6 separate regions of the Homo sapiens genome follow, and regions 1, 3, 4, 5 and 6 are each linked to region 2. Evidence: promoter capture Hi-C in 16 types of primary human blood cells and fetal thymus (Javierre and others, 2016). All regions are on one chromosome and are shown on one strand. The core of a region is centred on a gene start or on the middle of the fragment in contact, and the rest is flanking DNA. Distances in the headings are between cores, read along the strand shown.

What was found. The method cuts DNA at HindIII sites, captures the fragments that hold promoters and counts their contacts. A CHiCAGO score of 5 or more calls a contact.
Region 1: a contact is called between a fragment that was not itself captured here and the fragment with the promoter of LINC01996 in region 2, in 5 of 17 cell types (naive CD8 T cells, naive CD4 T cells, total CD4 T cells and 2 more). The highest score is 7.3, in naive CD8 T cells.
Region 3: a contact is called between a fragment that was not itself captured here and the fragment with the promoter of LINC01996 in region 2, in 1 of 17 cell types (M2 macrophages). The highest score is 5.6, in M2 macrophages.
Region 4: the fragment with the promoter of C17orf107 here is called in contact with the fragment with the promoter of LINC01996 in region 2 in 3 of 17 cell types (neutrophils, erythroblasts and M2 macrophages); the score reaches 6.8 in neutrophils.
Region 5: the fragment with the promoter of SLC52A1 here is called in contact with the fragment with the promoter of LINC01996 in region 2 in 3 of 17 cell types (neutrophils, naive CD8 T cells and naive CD4 T cells); the score reaches 12.0 in neutrophils.
Region 6: a fragment that was not itself captured here is called in contact with the fragment with the promoter of LINC01996 in region 2 in 1 of 17 cell types (total CD8 T cells); the score reaches 5.2 in total CD8 T cells.

The regions. Positions count from the first base shown.
Region 1 is chr17:4,195,311-4,199,875 of GRCh38, forward strand. It overlaps ANKFY1 (ankyrin repeat and FYVE domain containing 1), which reads right to left. Exons shown (of 25, transcript NM_001330063.2): 8 at 2,063-2,267; 9 at 93-161. Among named protein-coding and RNA genes, the nearest start is that of CYB5D2, 54 kb to the left of the region's middle. The HindIII fragment of the contact is 8,607 bases long and covers 1-4,565 here.
Region 2 is chr17:4,608,808-4,613,547 of GRCh38, forward strand. LINC01996 (long intergenic non-protein coding RNA 1996) reads left to right here and starts at 1,642. Exons shown (of 2, transcript NR_145431.1): 1 at 1,642-2,026. The HindIII fragment of the contact is 12,447 bases long and covers 1,482-4,740 here.
Region 3 is chr17:4,245,550-4,250,494 of GRCh38, forward strand. The region is part of intron 1 of ANKFY1 (ankyrin repeat and FYVE domain containing 1); the gene reads right to left. Among named protein-coding and RNA genes, the nearest start is that of ANKFY1, 16 kb to the right of the region's middle. The HindIII fragment of the contact is 3,375 bases long and covers 786-4,160 here.
Region 4 is chr17:4,898,286-4,900,785 of GRCh38, forward strand. It overlaps C17orf107 (chromosome 17 open reading frame 107), which reads left to right and starts at 1,251. Exons shown (of 3, transcript NM_001145536.2): 1 at 1,251-1,543; 2 at 1,651-1,860; 3 at 1,952-2,500. The coding sequence starts at 1,478. The coding sequence ends at 2,248. CHRNE (cholinergic receptor nicotinic epsilon subunit) reads right to left here. Exons shown (of 12, transcript NM_000080.4): 9 at 1,183-1,297; 10 at 913-1,099; 11 at 716-822; 12 at 1-606. The coding sequence ends at 451. RefSeq lists silencers at 848-997, 1,018-1,127 and an enhancer at 1,328-1,637. The HindIII fragment of the contact is 47,734 bases long and covers 1-2,500 here.
Region 5 is chr17:5,033,405-5,038,143 of GRCh38, forward strand. SLC52A1 (solute carrier family 52 member 1) reads right to left here and starts at 2,022. Exons shown (of 5, transcript NM_017986.4): 1 at 1,457-2,022; 2 at 1,073-1,309; 3 at 75-954. The coding sequence starts at 1,202. The region is part of intron 3 of LOC105371501 (a long non-coding RNA gene); the gene reads left to right. The HindIII fragment of the contact is 18,376 bases long and covers 1-4,739 here.
Region 6 is chr17:4,155,708-4,160,300 of GRCh38, forward strand. It overlaps CYB5D2 (cytochrome b5 domain containing 2), which reads left to right. Exons shown (of 4, transcript NM_144611.4): 4 at 1,159-1,990. The coding sequence ends at 1,375. It overlaps LOC124903898 (a long non-coding RNA gene), which reads right to left and starts at 486. Exons shown (of 3, transcript XR_007065581.1): 1 at 240-486. The HindIII fragment of the contact is 188 bases long and covers 1,778-1,965 here.

The sequences.
Region 1 (4,565 bases), core at 878-3,377, 410 kb before region 2:
ATGCAACACTAAAGATGTTTAAAAAGAATGATTTTTCACTCACAATCCCCCCTCACAACCGCCTTCTCACTTGTGCGTGTCTCCCTACGTACTGTTTGCACTGCAGCAGCTGACTGAACACATATTCATTCCCGGCCATGATGGACACATGTAAAGGAGTCCTGCGGGATCCAAAAGAAGAGGGGTCAGTTCAGGACAGGCCTGTTCAGGATGACTCACGGCAAGACGCAACCAGAATCCCAGGCAGAATCACCACCCGCAAGAAATCCCACATTTCTACAAGGCTTCTAAAACCATGACCCAGTATCAAAACCTGAAAACGGATCTGCTTATATGTGACCATTATTCAGCGGCCAAAATGGACAAGAATCAGCTCAAGGAAGTGATCTCAAATACTCCCCAACTCAATCCCAACCCCTTCCTGAAGGCACAGACAGGATTTTCTTGAGAACAGCAGTTTCTGCCACAGGTGTGCAGATTTTCCCTCATCTCTTCTCCATCAATTCTAAAAGGAAACTCTCCCCCATAATCTTCTATTCTTCTCAAACACACTCAGAGCAGCAACAGGAAAGAACTGATGAAAGCGGCATTTAACCCCTTTCACTGCTTTCATTTAGCACTCGGGAGCCCTGCAGGAGACTGGCACTGCAGAGCCACCACTAACACACACACACACACACCCCCGAGTCAGGGCCCAAGGCTGCACCTACCCACCCACCCCCCCCACCACCCCCCACCCACACAGTGAGTCAGGGCCCAAGGCTGCACCTACCCCGCCCCCCACCTCCCCCCAAAAACACACACTTTGAGTCAGAGCCCAAGGCTGCATCTACTACACACACACACACACACACACACACACACACACACACACACACACACTGCGAGTTTATTGCCGTTGGAGGAAAAAAATGAAAGAATCAACAGCAGGGAAAGGGATGCAATTATTTTAGGAAATAAGGTAATTATCACATGATACTGAGATTTCATGAAGCTACATCTTATTTACGTACTTATCTATCACATAAATACATTCTCCTGTCTGACAACCAAACTTTACAAAAAATCTTTTTTTTGAGAGGTTTTTCAAAGGTATAAAATACTGAGAATGTTCTAATGACAAGCGGGTCCCAACTGTGGTCAGTGATTCAGGTGACTTAACTATCCTTCACAGCCCCTCACACCACTGTCCCAAGACAAGTAGCCTTTTCTCAGATCCTACCACAAGGAATCCTCAACTATTTCTGGAAAGGGGCAAAATGAACACAATAAATATTGTTAAATATGCAAAGGGCCGTGCTATGGACAAAGGTAGCAAGCTGTGCAGATAAAGTGGGAGTGTTTACGAGAAGGTAAAATTGGGTTTAATATAGAGAATTTTCTAACAATTAGAATTTTCTAACAATTAGACCTCAATAGTTCTTCAAACTATCCAAGCAACTCTAAGAAATGCTACAAGGTTTCCTTGGAGGCACTGGACTAGATGACCACTCTGGTTCCTTCAAACATGAGATACAAATTGCTTAAAAGCTCGAAAACTGGCTCACGCCCGTAATCCCAGCACTTTGGGAGACCGAGGTGGGCAGATTGCTTGAGCTCAGGAGTTCGAGGCCAGCCTGGACAACATGGCAAAACCCTGTCTCCACCAAAATACAAAAATCAGCCAAGTGGGGTGGCGTGTGCCTGTAGTCTCACCTACTCAGGAGGCTGAGGTGAGAGGATCACCTGTGCTCAGGAGGTAGAGGCTGCAGTGAGCCAAGATCATACCACTGCGCTCCAGCCTGGGTGACAGAGTGAGATGCTGACACAATTAAAAACAAACAAACAACACACAAAAAAAACCTCGAAGACTTCAGTTACCCAGGATAGAAATGTTTTCCCCAAATGCCTCTGGTTTTAGTAGTGACACTACTACTACACATCGATGTCTGTGACTTTAATGAAAATAAGACTGAATAATGCCAAACTAAAGAACATGAACTCCCCGTATGCCAATTACATGCTACTGTAAGATATCTTCTGAGAACAGTGCTAAGGGCACAGTGTCTGCTCCCCAGCTTACCTCCCCTTGCTGTCCTGCATGTTGGGGTTGGCACCAGCCTGCAGAAGGGCCTCTGCAATCTGCGCCATCTCAGACATCACATCTGCTGAGTGTTTCTTTGAACTGTACAAGGCCACAAGGTGCAGTGGTGTCTCCTGGGCACCCAGTGTAGCAGCGTTGACAAAGGCCCCATTCTTAATGAGGAAAGTGGCAGCAAAGAGATCTCCTTGAAAAGAAATAATAGAAGAAACAGTGTCAGGGCAAAGTATTCTGGCCAGTGCTTCTTCAAGAGGGAGCAGAAAATGACTGCAGACAAAGGAGAGCGATAACTAGATGTGTCTGAAGGAACCTCTTGGGGCATCTGTAAGTGGAAACTCATTGAGATCATGGAGTTACAGACGAATTCAAAAGGCTCTGCTCAATTTTTGGTTACCTGTTACCACTTGTCCTGCCTCCTCACCTCAGTATCCTTTCACTGTTTAAGAATACTAGGCTGGGCCAGGCGCAGTGGCTCATGCCTGTCGTCCCAACACTTTGGGAGGCCGAGGTGGGCGGATCACCTGGGGTCGGGAGTTGGAGACCAGCCTGACCAACAGGGAAAAACCCCGTCTCTACTACAAATACAAAACTAGCCGGGCGTGGTGGTGCACGCCTGTAATCCCAGCTACTTGGGAGGCTGAGGCACGAGATTCGCTTGAACCCAGGGGGTGGAGGTTGCGGTGAGCTGAGACCACATCATTGCACTCCAGCCTGGGGATTAAGAGCAAAACTCCGTCTTAAAAAAAAAAAAAAGAACACTAGGCTTCTACTCTTCAAAGGCCTCCTTCGGTCATCTCTCAGAAGGGTTTCCAGGATCCCTCCCTACACAATTTCTCTCTCTCTTTCTCTTTCTTTCTTATTTCCTGACCACAGCTTGTACCTAACTAAGCAACACCTACCCCCATTCTGCTGTACTTGCATTCACGTTCCTACTCAGAGTAATCCCATGTCTGTTTTATTATTATAAAATTTATTTTCTTTTTAGATTTTTTTTTTTTTCAGACAGAGCCTTGCTCTGTCACCCAGGCTGGAGTGCCGTGGTGCAATCTCAGCTCACTGCAACTTCCGCCTCCGAAATTCAAGCAATTCTCATGTCTCAGCCTCCCAAGCAGCTGGGACTATAGGCATGTGCCACCACACCTGGCTAATTTTTTGTATTTTAGTAGGGACGGGGTTTCACCATGATGTACAGGCTGGTCTCAAACTCCTGAGCTCAGGAAAACCACCTGCCTCGGCCTCCCAAAATGCTGGGATTACAGATGTGAGCCACCGTGCCCGGCCTCTTTTTAGTTTTGTAATCTCATTATATACACATAACTGACTTAATAAGAAGTTTACAATGAAATATTTGAACAGAGTATCTGTACACATTACTATTTACAAAAATTTCACATGGTAAATAACCTTGTTGTGGAAACAAAATTTCTTTCTAAATCCCTTCCATTGACTTACCTCTTGGAGTATTACAGATAAGAGTCTACCTAGGACAATTTACAGATATCAAATTAAGACTGAATAACATCCCAGGTCTTTGGAAGGCCGAGGTGGGAGGATCACTTGAGCCCAAGAGTTCAAGACCAGCCTGGCAACATGGGGAGACCCCATCTCTACAAAAAAAAACTTAGCAAGGAGCGGTGACAACAGCTGTGGTTCCAGCTACTCAGGAGGATGAGGTGGGAGGATCGCTTGAGCCCCAGAGTTCGAGACTGCAGTGGGCTATGACTGTGCCACTGCACTCTAGCCTGGGTGACAGAGAGAGATCCTGACTCAACAAAGGCTGAGTAACTTACAGAAAAACCATTCTTCTTCTTATTTTTTGAGACAGAGTCTCACCCCCGCCACCCAGGCTGGTGCACTGGCACGATCACGGCTCATTGCAGACTCAACTTCTTGGCTCAGAGGATTCTCCTAACTCAGTCTCCTGAATAGCTGAGACTACAGGCACGCATGCCACCATGCCTGGCTTATTTTTTATATTTTTAGTAGAGATGGGGTTTCACCATGTTGCCCAGGCTGGTCTCCAACCCCTGGGCTGAAGGGATCCACCTGTCTCAGCCTCCCAAAGTGCTGGGATTACAGGCATAAGCCACTGTGTCTGGCCAAAATTCATTAATTTTAATAGTTTCATTTACCATCTTTGACTATTTATGCTCTGTAGGAGTGAAAAAAACTACCTTGACATGTTGACAAAAGGCCAAGAATTAAGATGAAAATGTTAATGGTACACATTTGTGAAAATACTTTGTCAGACACTAGTAAAGAGAAATTGACTCTAGATTGGTTCTACAAATACATGGTTAAACTCGGAACTAAGCAATCTGACAAGTGGCCATTTAGTGTTAAAAAATACTTCTGAAAAACCAGTTAAAGTTTACTTGTCAAGTTAACTTGGAGGATGACAAGGATTAAGCAATTAAATTTGTTGTAAGATTAAAAGTTCAGTCTTTCTTGGATTTAGTTATATTTAACATTTAAAACACGCAAA
Region 2 (4,740 bases), core at 392-2,891:
TGTCTTCACCTCATGCAGCCGGCTCTCAACACCAGTGCCTGTGTGCCTTTGTGGGGTCCCACGTGTCCCTTGGGTGGTATATTGGGGGGTGGGCAGGAGATCCCTGGGGGTGTCAGGAGGAACATGGCAGAGCCTGCAGGTGGGTGAGCAGTATTCTCCATGGATTGGTTGGTCCAGGCTGCAGTCTTGCCCTCTCTCTCGGATTCTCCCACTCTGGAAACCATTCCCTTGCTAGCTCTCTCGTCTCTTGTACGCTTGGGGAGGTGAGACCTATTATTAACAGGACACATAACTGAAGGTTAGGGTTTCAAACCTGAAGCCAATCTGGGAACACAAGGGCTCTGTAAAAAGCATGGCTATATGTTACTGAGTCCTCGCACACGTTAAATGGAGCTCTCCCGAGTTGCAGACATGGCCGTACGCTCTGCGCATGAAACAGAGCAGATCCTGCCAGAATGCAGAACAATTTCTTTTAAACTTTAGGAATGGTGTCCCTCATGTCTCACATTCAGAATGAGACAGACTCGAGTTTTTAAAGTTGGTTCCATGATGTTCTTGTCTGTGGTCTTTGTTGGGGGTGGGGGGTGAGAGATCATAAGACAGTTTGTGAGTTTCAAACATGATTTTACCTCTAAGACAAAGCATGAGAAGAAAATCCAGGAAGGTCTCACAATCCTAAGATATTTGGAAACCACCGTTTTAGGTCGGGGTTACGTGAATGTTCCCCATTTGTGAGACCCAATTTCATCTTGCTTTCTACCCTGGTATGGAGGAATTCACATCTTTTTTCCCCTTTCCCGAGAGAATTATTTCTTGGAGCTGCTCATAAGAGTCTTCTGTTTTTCCAGATAGATTCCTTCACCTGGATTTTGTTAAACTTATTAAGTCGGACCAAATTGGCTTGTGTGTTTCCCTGAAGTGAACGTTTCACCAGAGCCACGATGGGTTTTAGCTTTTCTGATAGCTGATGGATATTTTTCAAGGCAAGCGAGAGCCTATAAGCACTTTCTGAATATGACAGAGCACATGCTGGTGAGAGGAGACCGCACAGGCCAGGTGTTTGGGGAACAGTTTGTTAAAGCCAATGAATTTCGCAAATGTGCTAGATGATGAAGAGTTCTCAGCTTTCCCGGTTGCAGTGATCAGAACTCTGTAACTGGAGACCGGTGTGAGAGAAGATTTTATTCTCTGCCATCATGACCGGGTCTATACGACTGCAGGCAATTGCACAGAAGACTAGAAATGCTGATTCAGTTGGTCAGTTTGGGGTGGGACATCTTACCAGTCCAGCAGAACCAACTCTGGCTTGGGTTTTTCTAGCTGGTGACAGGTGACCAACTCATTCTGATGAGTTGATTACGCCTGTGGACGTGGCCCACTTGATTTATTTTTTCTCCCTCTGTTAGCTGTGCTCTCCCAACCACCTGATAAATGGACCCAGTATGATTATTTCTGAGCCATCTTATCTCTCTCACTTTTAAAGCTTGGATTGGGTTTGCTTTTAGAGCTTTTGATCTCTTATCTCTTGGTTCTTGGACTTGCTTTGATACCAAACAGCCCTCATAGTCTTTTGAAAGAACACCTTAAAAATTCCTAGGCTGGGCGCGGTGGCTCATGCCTGTAGTCCTAGCACTTTGGGAGGCCGAGACAGGACAAATATTTGAGCTCTGGAGTTTGAGACCAGCCTGGGCAACAGAGTGAGACTCTGTCTCTACAGAAAGTTTTAAAATTAGCCAGGTGTAGTGACACATGCTTGTAGTCCCCATTACTTGGAAGGCCAAGGCGGGAGGATGGCTTGAGCCTGGGAGGTCAAGGCATCAGTGAGCGATGGTTGTGCCACTGCCTGGAGATAGAGTGAGACCCTGTCTCAAAAAAGAAAGAAAGAAAGAAAGAAAAATCCCTAAGACCTGACCTGCCTACTCCCTAGAAAGCACCAAATAAGGAAAAGCACTCCGGAAGAATGAAGCTAAGAAGGCTGTGCTCTCTGAGGCATCCGGGCAGCCTTCACTGGAGGGACAAGGTCCAGGTAGGTGGGATGACAAGCTGGGAAGGGGCCCTGAACCAGAGGCAGGTGATGTGGGTGGTGGCACCAGAGAGACACCAGACAGTGTTACCGTAGGTCTTGACTGTCCACCTTCATTCCTGAAGTTGATCCAGCTTTCTTACTGTCACGTAGGTGGATATAAAATCGATCTTTAGGGTTCTGATTTTTTGTTTGTTTTTGTTTTTTTTGAGACGGAGTCTCACTCTGTCACCCAGGCTGGAGTGCAGTGGCACAATCTTGGCTCACTGCAACCTCCACCTCCCAGGTTCAAGCGATTCTCGTGCCTCAGCCTCCTGTGTAGCTGGATGTACAGGCGCCCGCCACCATGCCAGGCTAATTTTTGTATTTTTAGTACAGACGGGGTTTCACCATGTTGGTCAGGCTGGTCTCGAACTCCTGACCTCAAGTGATCCGCCTGCCTTGGCCTCCCAAAGTGCTGGGATTACAGGCATGAGCCACTGCGCCCGGCCGGGGATCTGAGTTTTAATCACTCCCAGTGCAAGCGTCCTTATCTGGTTTGCAGACTGAGTGGCATTTGTGCTGCCGAGGCTCTTCCTGGCTTGCCCTCCTCTCTGGCTGTTGCTTTCCCTCCTCTGTTCATTAGAGCCTCCTCTCCTCGGCTTGTTGCTCCTATGTGCTGTGACCTAAGCTCTATGCTCCTTCTTCTACATTAGGGTTCATAGCCCAGGACTTTGGGGAGTCTGTGGATGTCCAAATTGAGTGTTTTACCTCAATTTGGTTGAGGTTGCAGTGAGCCGAGATTGAGCCATTGCACTCCAGCCTGGGCAACAAGAGTGAAACTCTGTCTCAAAAAATTGTATTTCTGGCCGGGCGCGGTGGCTCACGCCTGTAATCCCAGCACTTTGGGAGGCCGAGGCAGACGAATCACGAGGTCAGGGGATCGAGACCATCCTGGCTAGTACGGTGAAACCCCCGTCTCTACTAAAAATACAAAAAATTAGCTGGGCGTGGTGGCGGGCGCCTGTAGTCCCAGCTACTCAGGAGGCTGAGGCAGGAGAATGGCGTGAACCCGGGAGGAGCTTGCAGTGAGCGGAGATCGTGCCACTGCACTCCAGCCTGGGCGACAGAGCGAGACTCCATCTCAAAAAAAAAAAAAACATATATTTCTTTGATGTTTACTGGCTGGCATTCTTCTGTAAAGAAAGTCTTTCCCTCCCTCCAACTCAGTTTTTGAGTGTTCCTGGAGGCCCATGGATTTTTTTTTTTAATTCAATGTGTTGTAATCGCTTACTGTTATAATTTTTTTTGATGCTCAAACTGTTCAGAGGGAGAAGACAGCTCTTGTGTCTTTTTGCCATATTCCCATGGTTCTTTGAGCATTTTATTTTCTTTTACTTTTTTGAGACAGAGTCTCACTCTGTTGCCCAGGCTGGAGTGCAGTGGCGTGATCTCAGCTCACTACAACCTCCACCTCCCAGGTTCAAGCGATTCTCGTGCCTCAGCCTCCTGAGTAGCTGGAACTACAGGCATAAGCCACCACGCCTGGCTAATTTTTATATTTTTAGTAGAGACGGGGTTTCACCATGTTGGCCAGGCTGGTCTTGAACTCCTGACCTCAGGTGATCTGCCCACCTCGGCCTCCCAAAGTGCTGGGATTACAGGCGTGAGCCACCGTGCCCGGCCTTTGGGCACATTCTTGCTTTCTGGCACAAGGCGCTCCAGACTGACCTTTTACTTTCCTTGCCCCAACTGTGGAATCAGTCATTTATTCAGATCCTGGTCTCTTGTGGTGGAGAATTTTTATTTCCCAATGAAGGTCCAGGGACTTGGTGTGCCGGTTTTGCTGGGTGTCCTGCTTCTAGGCCCTTGCAGTGAACAGAGCTAAGATGTTTTAGAAGAGCCTGCAAGTATACTGAAACCTCCAGCTTCAATTCAGCACCACAGGCCTCATCTGTACATTAGTCCCTATTTTTCCTTTTTTCAAACCATCCTGATTCCCAACAATTTCAATACACTTACGGATTTCTTCTGTACCGCAATGTCCAAATTCTGAAACAGTAGTTTCCGAATTCTTAAACTGATGTCACTGCCAACAACAAACCCACCAAGTAAGGTTTGGGATTTCCCTTCAGCCCCTTTCCCCACCTTTGGGTATATTCCCTAAGGGTGCACAGGGTGCTGGATTCAAAAGTTACTTGAGGCTGGGCACGGTGGCTCACGCCTGTAATCCCAGCACTCTGGGAGGCCGAGGCAGGCGGATCACTTGAGGCCAGGAGTTCAAGACCAGCCTGGCCAACATAGCGAAACCCTGTCTCTACTAAAAATACAAAAATTAGCCGGGCATGGTGGTACATGCCTGTAATCCCAGCTACTAGGGAGGCTGAGGCAGGAGAATTGCTTGAACCAGGACCTGGGAGGCGGAGGTTGCAGTGAGCCAAGACCACGCCACTGCACTCCAGCACACGAAGTGACAGAGTGAGACCCTGTTTCAAAAAAAAAAAAAAAGAAATAAAAGTTACTTGAATTATTTTCTCTTGGAAACCATGTTATGAATTTGATATGCATGAGGTTGACTTGATTCTGTTTGTATTCAATTAAAGGTTTGTTTCCATCATTTTTATTTTCTTTTTTTGACTATGTAAATACTTCACCTAGGTCAAAAGTCAAAACTCTACAAAAAGGTATATTCCCATTCCCATTCCTCCATCTGTTCCCACCCTTAGTCTCTGTTTTCT
Region 3 (4,945 bases), core at 1,223-3,722, 360 kb before region 2:
GGGCTACGTTGTCTTGCACTCCCAGGCTCAAGCGACCCACCTGCCTCTGCCTCCAGAGTAGCTAGGACCAGAGGTGTCCATACTTGGGAGGCTGAGGCAGGAGGATCCCCTTGAGCCTAGGAGGTTCAGGCTGCAAAGAGCCGAGATTGTGCCACTGTACTCCAGCCTGGACAACAGAGCAAGACCCTGTCTCAAAAAAAAAAAAAAAAAAACAACCAGCCAGGTCTGGTGGCTCATGCCTGTAATCCCAGCACTTTGGGAGGCTGAGGCGGGCAGATCATGAGGTCAGTTCAAGATCAGTCTGGCCAATATGGTGAAACCCCATCTCTACTAAAAATACAAAAATTATCTGGGTGTGGTGGCACACAACTGTAGTCCCAGCCACTCAGGAGGCTGAGGCAGAAGAATCGCTGGAACCCAGGAGGTGAAGGTTGCAGTGAGCCAAGATCGTGCCACTGCACTCCAGCCTGGGTGACAGAGGACAGTCCGTCTCAAAAAACAAACAACAACAACAAAAAACAACCAAAGAAAAAAAATTATGAGTAATAGAGAAGACAGGCAATTAAGCCAACGCAGTAAACCCTGAGAGCACTCTGATAGGGGATACAAATGGAGTGTGGCAGGAGACCTCCTGGTTTAAGCTAGTGTAAAGAAAATGTTCCAGAAAAGTAGTATCTTACTTCAAAAGATTTAAATAAAGCCTGTATTTGTTTGTAGCATACTGGACCCAGAAAATGCAAGAGAAGGTTTCGATCTTTTATTTTCTTGGTCAGATTCTCCTTTTAAGCTTGTATCAGTCAACAGATTTGTCAAACAGACAAAGTACATAAACACAGTATATTTCTCTACGAGAAATACAAATAATTATGAGCCCAAGCCTCGCCCTCTCCTCCAAGAGTTCACTGACAATAGTATCAGCCACTCACCAGATGCTATGCAAGTCAGCTGAAAAGGATGGCTATAGTATATACCACATCTTGCTAGTTCAACCTGGTGGCTACAAAATTATATCCCACTTGCCAAGAGACAGCCCCCAAGTTTCCACAGTGGTAACCTTTTCTTCCATAAGCAACCTGAACCCTCTAACCTTGGTTTCAATCACACCATATTCTAGCCAACCTAAATCTTTTGCTCCTCAAGACCTCCAACCCAGCATGACTATAGCTGGCTGGGGAATTTCCATTTCCATTTCACTTAAACTGTTGATCTGCAAATATTTATGCATTAAGCATTTTGGCAGATTAGGAGGTGCCTCTTTTAAGAGTTAAAAGGGCAATCTAGGCTGGGTGTGGTGTTTCACACCTGTAATCCCAGCACTTTGTGGGTCCCAGGCAGGAGGATCTCTAAAGCCCATGAGTTTGAGACCAGCCTGGGCAACATGGTGAAACCCCGTCTCTACAAAAAAATACAAAAATGAGCCAGGGGTGGTAGTGGGCACCGGTAGTCCCAGCTACTCAGGAGGCTGAGGCAGAAGGCTCGCTTGAGCCTGGTAGGACGTAGAGGTTGTGGTGAGCTGAGATCGCACCACTGACTCCAGCCTGGGTGACAGAGAGAGACCCTGTCTTAAAAAAAAAAAAGAGAGAAAAAGAAAAAGAAAAAAAAATGACTGCAAAGTTGCTGATTCCTCTATCTAAGCCTTCAAATGGAGGAGATCCTGAAAGCTCTGTTTCAGCCATCTTCCCCCTCTCTGCTCTCTAGGAAACCATACACATTTCCTTAAATATCAGTTATACACATAAATTCCAAAATCTACAGCAACAGCCCCAGTCTCTCTACAGAATTCCTGATTCAAATATGTAGCAGCTGCCTGGACAATGACACAAGATATAAACTACCAAGGTAATGAGCAGAGAAGAAGCTAGATAAAAGGAGGGCTTTAGCATGATTTGGGGCTCTTAGTCACAAAATTACAGATGCTCCCCCACCCGGCAGCTTTTGTCGGGGGAAACCCAAAGGATCACTAATGCACTCAGGCAGCTTATGAGCACTTACCAGCGCTACTTCAATTGCCATACCATTTCACAGTATAATGGAGGAGTGCTTATGGCTGAGACATTACCAGCCCGTGGGGAATACTGTCTGCTTACAAACAGCAATGCAAATGTGTCCTTGAAGTGTCACCAAGCTGTACAGTTCTTACAAGAAAAAGTACAACATTATTCTGAGCAAAATGGAGAGAGAATTTACAGTGTGCAGGTTCTAGGGCCAGACTGACTGGGATCAAGCCCAGCCCCACTACTGCCTAGTTTTGATACACCTTAGGCAGGTGACTCATTCTCTTCACCTGCAAGGATGTTGTAAACACTGAAAGTACTAATACATGTAATAACCTTAGAATACAACCTGCTCTGCAGTAGGTGGTCAAAATATATTAGCTATTATTACAATTCTTAGAAAGGCAACCCGGGGTAGTCAGTCCTGTGTTGCAAGATTCTCCCTGCACACTGATAGCCCAGAGCTCGCATTCCAGAGTCTCACTGACTGGGTTTGACCCCAGCTTACCCATTTACTAGCTGTGTGACCTTGGGCAAGTTACTTACTTCCTCTCTGTGCTTCAGTCTTCTCACATGGAAAATGAGACTAATGATACTATCTTAGAGCAGGTGTCCCCGACCTCCAGGCCGTGGACGGGTACTAGTTTGTGGCATGTTAGGAACTGGGCCACACCCAGCAGGAGGTGAGCTGCGGGCGAGTCAGCATGACCACCTGAGCTCCGCCTCCTGTGAGATCAGCAGCAGCATTAGATTCTCACAGGAGCGTGAACCCTCCTGTGAACCGCGCATGCGAGGGATCTAGGTTGCATGCTCCTTATGAGACTCCAGTGCCTGATGATCTGAGGTGGAACAGTTTCATCCTGAAACTACTCCCTTCCCTACCCCATCTATGGACAAACTGTCTTCCACGAAACCAGTCTCTGGTGCCAAAAAGATTGGGGACCACTGTCAGAGAAGTACGTGTAAAGTCATTAGGATAGGTTAAATCACTCGGAACAGTGTCTGGTTTAGTAAGGCTTACCGCTGCTGCTACTCCTCTGCCTACTTATTCTTCATCAAGTGACCAGTTTTCAGCCGTGGTTTTTTCTTTGTCCCCTTCCAACTTTCATTTGAAAAGCAAGCCTAGAAATTTAATTAGCCGGGCATGGTGGCGCATGCCTGTAGTCCCAGAGATGATGCCACTGCATTCCAGCCTGGGTGACAGAGCAAGACTCTGTCTCAAAAAAGGAGAGGAGAGAGGAGAGGAGAGCAAACCTAGAAATTTAAATAATAGATAAAACCTAGAGTTTCACCAAAAAAGCTACGCTAAGTATCAGTGAAGAATGCCAGAAACTTCCAATTTTCTCATATTTCTTTCCAAATAATACCTATCTGTTCTCCATGAGTGCAGTCTATGATCAGACTTTCAATAAGTATTCTTTCTGATAGTTCATCACTCTTGAGTTAACAAAACATGCTTAAGACAAAAAAATCTTCATTCATTACAAATAGCCTAAAATAAAGAGTGCAATGTCTACTGCAAAAAAGTAGTTAATCAGCAAATTACCTCTTCAGAAGTTATATGGCACAGTCAGAAGAGAAACCAAGAATGATTTTTAGAACACTCTTCCTTCTAGGTCAGGAGTTGGCATACTTTCCGTACAGGGCCACATAGCAAATATTTTAGGCTTTGGGAGCCATACAGTCTCTGGGGCACTACTCAACTCTGCCAGTTGGAACACAAAAGTACAAATTAATGAATGTGGCTGTTTCCCTAAAAATACTTTATTTATGAACACTGAAAATGGAATTTCATATAATTTTCACATCATGATACATTGTTTTGATTTTTCTTCAACCAGGTTAAAATATTTAAAATATAGTTAATATTTATAAGTTATTTTTATATGTTACATCTATAACATATAAATAAATTCTTAGCTTAAGGACTGCATAAAAACAAGTCGACAGGTCTCAGGTCAGATTTGGCTGAGAGGCCATACAAGCCCTGTCCCCCTGCTGGTGATTTTAAAGAATTAGAACGTTAAAATGACAGCCAGAGCCAAATGAAAAGGGAAGAAAGCAGTTTATCTATCTGGAACACCTAGAATTCTGTAACCTCTCACTTCTTACCAAACTCTAATCCACAACAGCAGCCACTGCATCTTCAAGATATGCCTGTCTCCAAGCTTACCTCCTCACCCTCAGAAACAGGCTCACAGTAATGCCTCCCACCCCTAGACAAACATCTCTTCTCCACAGTTATGCTCTTGACTGCGCAGTCTATCATACACTTTGCCTTCTCCACCCATTTCTTAAGAGTCCTCTTTGGTCACTACTTCCTGCCTTACCTCCCTAACCTTCTGAAACTTGGCTTCAACCCACATCACTCTACTAAATAGTCACAATGATCAAATCACCCACTTTGATGACCTTTTCCTTATTCTTCAAGCTCCTCAACCTCTCTGTAGCCTCCGACTCTCAACCACCCCATTCTTAAAACTCTTGTTTTGGCTTCCTAACTCTGTACTCTAGCTTTCTTCCTAACCTTGTTACAGACCCTTCACCTCCTATTCTGACTACCCACTTTCTAAAACGGCACAGTGCTGCAAGGTGCAGACCTACATCTGAACTTTTTCTAAATTTTCTTCCCTGAACATGGTCTCATGCATACCCATACTTTACTGTCACTGCTATAAAAATGGACCCAAATCTCTCTTTCCTTCAACAGCTCCTGCTGAAAGAATGACTGACTGCTACTATAAACTCGACAAGTCCAAAATCAAACTTCATATCTTCCTCAAATCAAAGTCTTCTTCCTACTTCATTTCATGTTATCAAAGCTCTAGGTTACCAATGTACGGGCTATGATAATGCATTTTTAATAGTATACCAAACATACAAAATATTTAGAGATAAACTTAACAAAATGTGCAATGCATGCACACTGAAACTATAAAAACACTGCTGAC
Region 4 (2,500 bases), core at 1-2,500, 290 kb after region 2:
TGTTTGGTTCCCACCCGCTCCAGCAGAGCCAGACCAGGGAAGAAGAGGGTTTCCTGGCTACAGCCTCCCTGTGTGCAAGTCCTGCAAAGGGGTCTCCTGTTTGGCTATGAAATGAATATAGATAGATAGCTCACAAGCTGGCAGCCACCAGAGTCCCGTGGGGCTGAGCCTTAGAAAGGCTGGGAGGTCAGCAAGGCTGAATGAAGGGCAGTCCTTGCTTTCTGGAAGACTGGCACCTGAGAGCCTATGTGAACCCTTTCCTCCTGCTGACCCCTGGACTGCGGCCAGGCCTACACACGCCAGGGAACGGGCACACACCATTCTTGTGAAGTTCACAAACTGCAGATTGATCAGCAGGGGGAAGGGATCATAATGCCGTGGTGGCGGCAGCCTACTTTTTCAAAATCAATTTCCTACTGGAGATGGGTGGGAAATTGAAGTCGGTGCGAGCTAAGGCTGGATACACGGCGCGTAGGGGAGATCAGGCACTCGGTTGAAGTAGGCCCCGAGGAAGATGAGGCTGGAGCCCACGCTGAAGAGCACCAGAGCGGCCCAGAAGCAGATGTTGTCAAGGGCATTCCCCATGCGCACCCAGTCGGACACTTCCTGGGGAAGGGTCGGCACAGTCAGTAAAGAGGCAGCTGCAGGAGCCAGCGGCATGGGAGACAGTGGTGGGCCTCTGCCTCGCTCCACCCGCCTCTGGCTCCTGTCCCACCTCGCCGGTGGCCTCCTGATCTCTCGTGCTCTCGGCCACGAAGTTCACGGCATCCACACAGCAGCGGACCTCGGGGGCGGCGGCGCCCAGGCTCTGGCAGAAGGCAGCTGGCGGGGAAAACACCGGGGTGGGCCTTAGGAGCCTCCCCCCTGGCAGGCACCCCGCGCGGCCCCCCGGGCCAGGGCCACTGTGCTCACCCGTCCAGGTCCCCTGCCGGTGCCTCTGCCCCTCAAACACGAGCTCGCTCCGTGGCTTTTTCAGTATCAGCTCCTCCGCGCGGAGCAATAAGCCCACCGACGACGCCCGCCTTGGGGGCGAGGCGGCCCGGGGGGCCTCGGGCGGCGGCGGGGAGCCCAGGAGGCGCGGCAGCAGCTCCAGGAGAACCTGGGGCAGGGGCGGGGCTTAGGGGACGAGGTTAGTACGAAGCCCCACCCCGACCCGGGCTGCACCGCCCCCTCCGCGCTTACGTGGCGCAGCCGCGGGGACATGGCGTGGGTGGTGGGCGTCCGCTGGGACACGTTGAGCACGATGACGCAATTCATGACAATGAGCGTGGCGACCACCATGACGAAAATAAGGAACCTGAGGAGCCCGGAAGGCATGACATCACCGTTCCTCCTCCCAGCTACCGAAGGCGCCGCGCGCTGACCTCACAAACACGGCTTCTCCTGGTACGGGCTGGTTACGCCCTCCAGCTGCGCCCCCTACACGACGACAGACGCGTCCCCCAGCCCTTCTCCTGTCCTACCACTTGTGGCGGCCATGAAGGGGACCCCCAGCTCCCTGGACACCCTGATGTGGATCTACCACTTCCACAGCTCCACCGAGGTGAGGCTACGCCCGCCAAGGGCTGCACCTCGAGACCTTCTGGGTAGGTCTCCTGTTCGCCCCTGTGACCCCTGCCCTGCTACTCTACTGCTCTGCTCCTTCTCCAGGTGGCCCTCCAGCCCCCGCTTCTGTCTTCCCTGGAACTCTCCGTGGCCGCAGCCCATGAATATCTGGAGCAGAGGTTCAGAGAGCTGAAGTCCCTGGAGCCACCCGAACCGAAGATGCAGGGGATGCTGCCTGCCCCGAAGCCCACCCTGGGGCTGGTGTTGAGAGAAGCCACAGCCAGCCTCGTGAGCTTCGGCACCACCTTGTTAGAGGTGGGGTACTGGGGGGCTTAGGATACGCGGCGATCGGGTAGCGGGAACAAGGACCTCTGCCTCCCCGCTAACCCCTGTGCCCCCAATGCAGATCTCAGCCCTGTGGCTGCAGCAGGAGGCGCGGCGACTAGACGGCAGCGCGGGCCCAGCCCCAGACGGCAGGGATCCGGGTGCAGCGCTGAGCCGGGTAGCCCAAGCCGCAGGGCAGGGGGTTCGGCAAGCTGGGGCTGCGGTGGGCGCCAGCGCCCGGCTCCTAGTCCAGGGAGCATGGCTATGCCTGTGTGGACGGGGTCTGCAGGGGTCTGCCTCATTCCTGCGACAGTCGCAACAGCAGCTAGGCCTCGGAATCCCCGGAGAACCGGTGAGCTCAGGACACGGGGTGAGTTAGGGGCCAGAGGCGGCGGGGCTAGGGAGGCACTGAGCCGGACTGTCCCCCAAGAGAGCTACTCGGGAGACCTCCAGGTGACGTCCAGCAGCAGTGAGGAGGACGGCGGACCAGGGACTCCATCCCCGTACCAGCCCCACCCAGCGTCCGAATAAAGCCCAGGGCGGGGCGAGACAGCCAGAGCTTTTCCCGGGGTCTCTGGGTTTTGGCCACGCCCCCACCCTTCACACTGGCCACACCCCCGCGGGGGCTCCG
Region 5 (4,739 bases), core at 772-3,271, 420 kb after region 2:
CTCAGGGCTGGCTGTTCTGGGACCTGGACCCCAACCTTAAGTTCCACCCACCAAGCCTGGGGACCCTTTTGCACCTGCACAGCACGCCCATGGCCAGGAAGCAGGCAAGGGGGTTGGCGGCACTGCCCAGCACCACAGCCAGGTGGTAGGCCAGGCGCCCATAGGGCAAACAGGAAAAGCTCTGCACAGAAGGCAGCACGCCATTGGTCACGGCACTGGTGAAGGCCATCAGGCCCAGCAGGAAGGCACCATGGGCTGAGAACAGCTGATGGGCCTCAGGGTCTGGGCCAGGGATGGTGCCTGCTGCCTGGCTCGGTGGCTCCTGCAATGGCAAAGCCTCTTCTTCCTCCTTCTCTTCCTCCTCTGCTCCTGGGGATCCCAGTTGAAGTTCAGGCCCTGAGCCCCCTGTGGTTACAGAGGGTAGTGATGGCAACAGCAACAGGAGACCCCGGAAGGCGGCAGCTGAAGTGACCAGAAGGGCAGTCAGTGCCCAGAAGAAGGTGCTGGCAGGAAAACGCTCAGGGAAGTCGAGGGGAGGCCCAGAGGTGCCATTGGTGGGCGCTGGTGGGCACTCGAGGCGGCCCACACCTTGCACTAGGGCCAGCACACAGGGGAGTAGGGCACTGAGACCCTGACCCAGGAAGAAAGACCGTAAGAAAGGAGGTGGCAGGTGGCTCAGGAAGGGCAGGAAAGTGACATTAGAGGTACAACAGGCCATTGCCAACACCAAGGCCAGAGTTAGGAAGGCCACAGAGTGGAGCTGCCCTGCCACTGGGGCCACGTGGTGCCACAGAGGGGCCAGCAGGGCTGTGCCCACTACACTCAGCACCTGTACCACCTGGATGGGGACCTGCTCGCCCTTGCCCGGGGCCAGCTGCCTCCACAGGGTCACCACCAGCAGACCCAGGTTTCCCAGCGCCACAACCACAGAGAGGTATGAGGGGAGGCTCCAACCTGCAGGGAAGGAATGATGCCATGTCAGGAGCACAGTGGCTAAGGGACAAAGAGCTGCCACAGGCCACCTTTCTGGGCATACCTGCCCCACGCTTCCCTGTACCTCCCTCCCACTCACCCTCTGGAAGGTCTTTTACCACCACAGGCAGCTCCACCCAGATCCCGTTCACAGCAGCCCAGGAGCCCATGCCAAAAAGGGCCACCAGCAGGTGGGTCAGCACCAGACGGCCCAGCGTGGGTGCTGCCATTCAGCCCAAAGCTGGACCCTCCAGGACAGGGCAAAGGTCACAGGCAGGTCCTTCCCTAGGTAGGTCCAAAGATGCTTTGGTTCTTCTGGAAACTGAAGACCTTCTAGCTGGAGGGAAACAGACAGGCTGGCAGGTAATAGGCTGGTGGGACAGAACCGGAGTCAGAAGACAAGTCGGTCAGACTGCTAAGACCAGGGCAACTGGAGGGAGAGGTGGCCGGGGGCGGGCGGGGAAGGTGGGGAGCCAGGACTTACCACGGGGCACCGGCTGTGCGTTTGGGTACAGCGACCCAGCAGTGCCGGCAGGCAGACAGGCAGAAAGCTGGCCCGAGGTGCAGCTGCCCCAGAGGAGCAAAGAGGGAGCTGATTTTCCTACCCACAGAGGACCCGGGGTCCAAGTTGTCAAAACAGCTCAGCACTGGCCGGGTGCGGTGGCTCACACCTGTAATCCCAGCACTTTGGGAAGCTGAGGAAGGCAGATCGCCTGAGGTCAGGAGATTGAGACCATCCTGGCCAACATGGTGAAAACCCGTCTCTACTAAAAATACAAAAATTAGCTGGTCGTGGTGGTGGGTGCCAGTAATCCCAGCTACTCAGGAGGCTGAGGCAGGAGATTCACTTGAACCCGGAAGGTGGAGGTTGCAGTGAGCCAAGATCACACCACTGCATTCCAGCCTGGGCGACAGAACGAGATTCGGTCTCAAAAACAAAACAAAACAAAACAAAACAAAAAAACAGCTCGGCACCAACACGCTCACCCTCAAATGGACCCCGGGACAAGGGCACGTCTCTGGTGCCACTTGCAACCCTAGCGCTTTTGCGACACTCAGGACTTGCTGAGGCAGGTCGAGTTGGAGAGGGGAGTGGCTGGGGCGGGCTCTGCCCGGAGGGGCGTCTCCGTGCTGCCCTCCCGCCTGCCTCAGGGGGGCATCCCGGGAGCCGCCAGGTGCGCAGGGGTCCCCGCACCTCCGGATCCGGCAGTCCCCGGACCCAGCGGCTGGCGGTCTGCCTGAGAGGGAGCCCCCTCCGCCGGGGAGGCGGCCCAGCCCAGAGCCCACACAGCTGGGGTTTTGTTGTTTGTTGTTTTAATTAATTAATTAATTTTGAGACGGGGTCTCACTCTGTCACCCAGGCTAGAGCGCAGCGGTGCGCGATCGCGGCTCACTACAGCCTCAACCTCCCAAGCTCAAGGGATCCTCCCACTCAGCCTCTCCCCACCCCCCCACAAGTAGCTGGGACCACAGGCGAGCATCACCATGTCCAGCTAATTTTTTTTTTTTTTTTTTTTTTTTTTGGTAGAGACAAGGTCTCACTATGTTGCTCAGGCTGGCTTGGCACTCCTGGGCTCAAGCAATCTTCCTACCTCAGCCTCCCAAGTAGCTGGGACTACAGACGCACCACACCTAGCTACCGCCACGCTCAGCTGTTTTTACACTTTTTTTTTTTTTTTTTTTTTTTGAGACGGAGTTTTGCTCTTGTTGCCCAGGCTGGAGTGCAATGGCACGAGCCTCTGCCTCCCGGGTTCAAGCCATTCTCCTGCCTCAGCCTCCCGAGTAGCTGGAATTACAGGCGCCCACCACCATGCCCTGCTAATTTTTGTCTTTTTAGTGCACAGGGTCTCGCCATGTTAGCTAGGCTGGTCTTGAACTCCTGACCTCAGGTGATCCACCTGCCCCGGCCTCCCAAAGTGTTGGGGATTACAGGCGTGAGCCACCGTGCCTGGCCAGCTGTTTTTACACTTTTAAATGGTTGAAAAAAAATTAGCTGGACGTGGTGTGCACACCTGGCTAATTTTTGCTTTTTTTTTTTTTTTTTTTTTTTTTTGAGACGGAGTCTCGCTCTGTCGCCCAGGCTGGAGTGCAGTGGCGCGATCTCGGCTCACTGCAAGCTCCACCTTCCAGGTTCACGCCATTCTCCTGCCTCAGACTCCCGAGTAGCTGGGATTACAGACGCCTGCCACCACGCCTGGATAATTTTTGTATTTTTCGTAGAGATGGGGTTTCACCATATTGGCCAGGCTCGTCTCGAACTCCTGACCTCAGGTGATCCGCCCGCCTCAGCCTCCCAAAGTGCTGGGATTACAGGCGTGAGCCACCATGTCTGGCCCTTTAATGATATTTTGTACTTGTTTACTCACTGACCATCTCAGGGATTACCCTGACCTACTACCCATTTTTGTATGGCCTGCTAGCTAAGACAGGTTTTCACATATTTATTTATTTATTTTTATTACTATTTTTGAGAAAGTGTCTTCCTCAAAAGGAAGTGCAGTAGCACAATCACAGCTCACTGCAGCCTCAAATACCTGGGCTCAAGGATCCTCCCACCTCAGCCTCCTGAGCAGCTGGGACTACAAGCACATGCCACCACGTCCAGCTGTTTTTACATTTTTAAATGGTTGGAAAAAAAAATCAATATCTGTAGTCCCAGCTACTCAGGCGTCTGAGGTGAGAGCATCCCTTGAGCACAGGAGGTCAAGGCTGCAATGAGCCATGATTGTGCCAATGTACTCCAGCTTGGGTGACAGTGAGACCCTGTCTAAAACCAAAACAAAACAAAAAACAAAGAAAACAAAAGAATCGTATTTCCTAACCCGTGAAAACTAAAAGCATATGAAATTTAAATTTCGGTAGGCCAGGCGTGGTGGCTCACGCCTGTAATCCCAACACTTTGGGAGGCCGAGGCGGGCTGATCACCTGAGATCAGGAGTTCAAGACCAGCCTGGCCAACATGGTGAACCCCGTCTCTACTAAAAATACACAAATTAGCTGGGTATGGTGGCGGGCGCCTGTAATCCCAGCTACTCGGGAGGCTGAGATATGAGAATCGCTTGAACCAGGGAGGTGGAGGTTGCAGTGAGCTGAGCTTGTGCCACTGCAGTCCAGTCGAGACAACAGAGCGAGACTCCATCCACCCCCCCAAACAAAAAAAAATTTCAGTGTCCATAAATAAAATACTATCAGAACACAGCCAAGCCCATTCATTTACCTATTGTCTACACCTGCTTTCCTGCTATAAGGGCAGAGCTGAATGGTTTCCACAGAGACTGTGTGGCCCTCAAAGCCTAAAATGTTTACTGTCTGGCCATTTACAGAACAAGTTTGCTGGTCTATCTCCCTCACTAGGATGTACGTTTGCGCGGAGGAGGCACTTTGTCTATTTCACTACCTACCCTATTCTCAGTGATCATTATACCACATAGGACGTGCTCAAATTGTTGTTGAATAAATAAACCAATAATACCCTAAAATCTGTTTCTTTCTTTCTTCCAATAATACCCTAAAATCTGTTTCTTTCTTTCTTCCTTCCTTTTTTTTTTTTTTTTTTTTTTGAGACGGAGTCTCACTGTGTCGCCCAGGCTGGAGTGCAGTGGCTCAATCTCGGCTCACTGCAAGCTCTGCCTCCCAGGTTCACGCCATTCTCCTGCCTCAGCCTCCCGAGTAGCTGGGACTACAGGCGCCTGCCACCACGCCCGGCTAATTTTTTGTATTTTTAGTAGAGACGGGGTTTCACCATGTTGGCCAGGCTGGTCTTGAAC
Region 6 (4,593 bases), core at 622-3,121, 450 kb before region 2:
ACTCCAGGAGGAGGAGACTCCAGGAGGCCTGCGTGCGTTCAGATGCTTGACTTTGCTTCCTTGGGCCCTGCCTCCTTTTCCCTCCCCACAGCCTTCCCCTGTGTCTCCTGAACCTCTTCTTGCTTTCATGACTGAGTAGTTCAGGCTCTGCCTTCCCCACAAAACCCTTCCAGGGCCACCCTAGTGAACTGCGGGGCCCTATCCCTGTGCCTCAGCTCAGTTTGTTGTCTTCTGTTCACCTGTGTGTGTCCCATTAGACTGAGAGGAACAAGTGCCGAAGGCAGGGACAAGGTGTGGAGTACAGATCCCCAATGATGGGATGGAGGCTGGGTAGAAGAGGGAGGCGTTTGGGTGACAGCCTTGTTCTTGGTAAGCTAGAAGTAGGATGTTTTCTCGCTGGGGGCAGTTTCTCTGACAGCAGGCACCGGAAGCTGTCTGAGGCGTCAGTTCCAAGAACCTCAGTTTCTTTCTTGCAAGGCCTCTGAGTCCATCAGAGACTGAGCCCAGTGCCCTGAGGTGGGCAAGGCCCCTGCCCAAGATAGGAGGGTGCTCAGGTTGTTGGGCCACAGCTGAATCCTCCGTGTCTGAAGCCTAGTGCCATCAAGGACTGGACCTGTGGGGCACAGGACAGCTTGCAGCTACACTCTATGCCAAGGGCTTCCCAGAGAAGGCCGACCCAGGTGGCCAAGGGCCAGGGCCCAATTGCCCACCCCCAGCCAAGTGCCCCAGAGAAGAAGGTGAAGACCCTGACCTGCGCTGGGTTGTAGTGGGGAAGGAAGAGGACAGTCGCACCCAGACACTGCTTCTGAGAAGCTCACAGGCCAGCAGGGGAAGCCCTTTCACAGCTGTTGCCACCAGTGCAGGAACGTGGTGCTGCCTCCTAAGAAGGGGCAGGGCAGGGGCTGGGGAGCACAGTGAAAGGAACCATGGACTGTGCCCTTGGCCTGGGGAAGGTGGTGGTGGCCCTGCAGGGGAAGCTGGAGGATGTTAGGAGAGAGCATGAAGGCTCAGGGGCTGAGCGCTGTAGCCTGCTGCCTTGGGAAACACTCTGGTAGGCTTCTACTTTTCAGAAGGCCTGGCTCTCTGCTTCCTGCTCTCCCCTTCCCAGAGACTCATGAGTTCTCACATTTAAGAAGTCCTCTTTCCGTCTATCCTTAGTGGAGGTGTGAGCAGAGACTGGATTGGCGTCCCCAGGAAGCTGTATAAGCCAGGTGCTAAGGAGCCCCGCTGCGTGTGTGTGAGAACCACCGGCCCCCCTAGTGGCCAGATGCCGGACAACCCTCCACACAGAAATCGTGGGGACCTGGACCACCCAAACTTGGCAGAGTACACAGGCTGCCCACCGCTAGCCATCACATGCTCCTTTCCACTCTAAGCCGTAGCCTCTTCTGTTAATAACACACAGAGAGCTCTGCCAAGCACCTGAGTAGGCCCTTGACACTTGTGTGCCCTGGGATGCCTCCTGGCGCGAATCAGGAGGGTCTGGAAGGACTCTGGCTATATTCTGCAAATGTGGCTCATGCCCCTTACCGTGGCTCGGCGTTGTGGTGCCTGAGGGACAGCCGGCCACCTGCCCAGTACTGGTCAGCTTTTCAACACTATTCCCTTTGACCTACTGGCCATCTTCCTCACAGCCCTCAGATATCAACGGGCACAAATAAGACCAACTCAATTTCCACTTGAATTTACAACCAAAAGCCTGCTGAGTTGATTACAGCTGGGCCAATACAGTACGAGGCAATAACAAATTAGTGTGGGTTGATTCTGGAATTGGAAAAGCTTTTGCTTGTATGGATACAGCAAATCCAGATGTCTCTGAACAAAGCAACAATTTAAAGCAACGACATTTTCTGTCCTTTAAGCACTTAAAATCAGGTGTGGTGTGTTTTCAAAGGCAGAAGTCTGCATTTTGAGCAAAAGGTGGCTTCCCAGCTCTAACAAGGTAACTGGTTAGCATGACATTAAAGCTTGGGCAAGGCTTCAAACTTAAGGTGGCTGGGCTTGCTGCTTGTCCAGTGGTTTGTATGTCCAGCGTCATCTGGCAATGTCATACCTGTTACCTCTTGACTACTTGTGAAGGTAGATGGGGGCAAGGAGTGTTCCTACTTCAGACAGAGAAGTGGGACCAGCACTACCACAGACAGCGCCACGGCCTCTGTGCATCGCCTCATCAGAGCTTCCACCCAGCTCCCTTTGCCGCTCAGTCTCACCCTCAACATCCACCAGCTTCCTCCCTCTCTGTCACTGTCTCCTTTTTCTCCATCATTCATTTCACTAAATCGCTTTCCAGATTCACAGACTAGAAAATGGAGGCTGCCTCCCCTTCACTGGCAGACCCGTACTCACTGCCCCTGTCCCCTTCACTGGCAGACCCGTGCTCACTGCCCCTGTCCCCTCACTGGCAGACCCGTGCTCACTGCCCCTGTCCCCTCACTGGCAGACCCGGGCTTATTGCCCCTATGGCCACAGCTGTTCCTTACACTTGGGCTCTGGCTCATGGCTCCTTTTGCCTGCCCCCGCCATCCTCCTCACCTGCCCCTCTTGTACCTTTAACCTCTCCCCGTCTCCTGGATCTTCCCCCAGGTATGCATCAAACAGCTCACTTCTCTCACATCATAAACATTCCCTCAACTCCAGTTTTGGCTTATACTCACTAGCTTTGCTTTTCAGCTCCATTTGCTCTAAAAATCAGGAGAAATTCTGCATTGGCACATTCCGTGGTCACATCCAGTTCTTACCTAGGCTTTGTCACTCTGGATACTGTGGACCGTGGGGTCCTCCATGAAACCCTCGCTGGGCTTTATCCTGCTTCCCTTTTTGCCTCTGCCCATTCCTTCTTAATTGCCTTGAGAACCCCGTTTTGCCTCCACAAACCCCTTCCCATTGGCTCCTCTCACTCCAAATCCGACAGTTACTTAGACCGTCAAACCTGCACGTCTACTCCAGGCAGCTTTGCAGAGCATTTCACCTTCCCCTCCCATGCTGCTTCTAGTTCTCCAAGGGAATGGCACCACCAGCTACACGCAGAGTCAGCATCCGAGCAGCCGTCCACACTCCATCCTCCCTTCCCTCCTCCTAACCCGCCTGCAGGTCCTGGGACCTCTGCCTCCCTCATTCTCTCCCTTTCCTTCCCTCTTATCTGTCCCTAGTACTCTTCCTCTGGCCTAGGCTGTCATTTCTCACTTGGATTACTGAAGGATCCTAACTGTACTCCCTCCCTCCAATCCCTCCTCCACACTGCTGGGAGCCGTCTTTCTTTCTTTCTTTCTTTCTTTTTTTTTTTTTGAGATGGAGTCTTGCTCTTTTGCCCAGGCTGGAGTACAGTGGCGCGATCTCGGCTCACTGCAACCTCGGTGGCACAATCTTGGCTCACTGCAACCTCCACTCCCTGGGTTCAAGCGATTCTCCTGCCTCAGCCTCCCAAGTAGCTGGGGATTACAGGCACGTGCCACTACACCCAGCTAATTTTTGTACTCTTAGTAGAGATGGGGTTTCACTATGTTGGTCAGGCTGGTCTCGAAATCCTGACCTTGTGATCCACCCACCTCGTCCTCCCAAAGTGCCAGGATTGCATGCGTGAGCCACCGCACCTGGCCAAGCTCTTTCTTAAAGATGATCAAGGCATCCCCCATTTAAGCCTCCTCAGGGGCTCCCCTGATCTATAAGGACTGAGTGCCAGCTCCTCTGCTGCGTGCCACACGAGGCCCTTCTGTGGCCTCTCTCCTCTTAGGCCTGTACCTTTCCCATCTCCTCCCATGTGCACCTCCTGTCCAGCCTCCCTCTCACTGCGTTATGTCTGCAGTGCCTTCACACAAGCTGTTTCTTTTGCCTGGAATGACGCTTCTTCCTCCGTTGAATTAATCCACCCCGTATTGCTTCAATATTCAGCTCAATCAGGCCCCTCTTGGGAGCCTTCATTAACTGTTGGGCCAGCAGTGAGCTATAGACGCACTTTCCCTGCTCCATGGCTGTGCTCATATCACAGTGGGCTCTTACCATGAACTTCCTATCAACCTCTTGCACTGGACCTCAGACACTCTGAGGACAGAGCCCCAGTGTGATTCAGCTCCATACCCCTATATCCACATGACTCAGCTCCGTACCCCTATATCCACGACTCAGCTCCATATCCCTATATCCACAACTCAGCTCCGTACCCCTATATTCACATGACTCAGCTCCGTACCCCTATATCCACATGACTCAGCTATGTACCCCTATATCCACATGACTGAGCTCTGTACCCCTATAATCCACGACTGTCCGTACCCCTATATCCACATGACTCAGCGCCGTACCCCTATATCCACATGACTCAGCGCCGTACCCCTATATCCACATGACTCAGCTCTGTACCCCTATAATCCACATGACTCAGCGCCGTACCCCTATATCCACGACTCAGCTCCGTACCCCTATATCCACATGACTCAGCTCCGTACCCCTATAATCCACATGACTCAGCTCCGTACCCCTATATCCACGACCCAGCTCCGTACCCCTATAATCCACATGACTCAGCTCCGTACCCCTGTATCCACATGACTCAGCGCCGTACCCCTGTATCCACGACTCGGCTCCATACCCCGATAT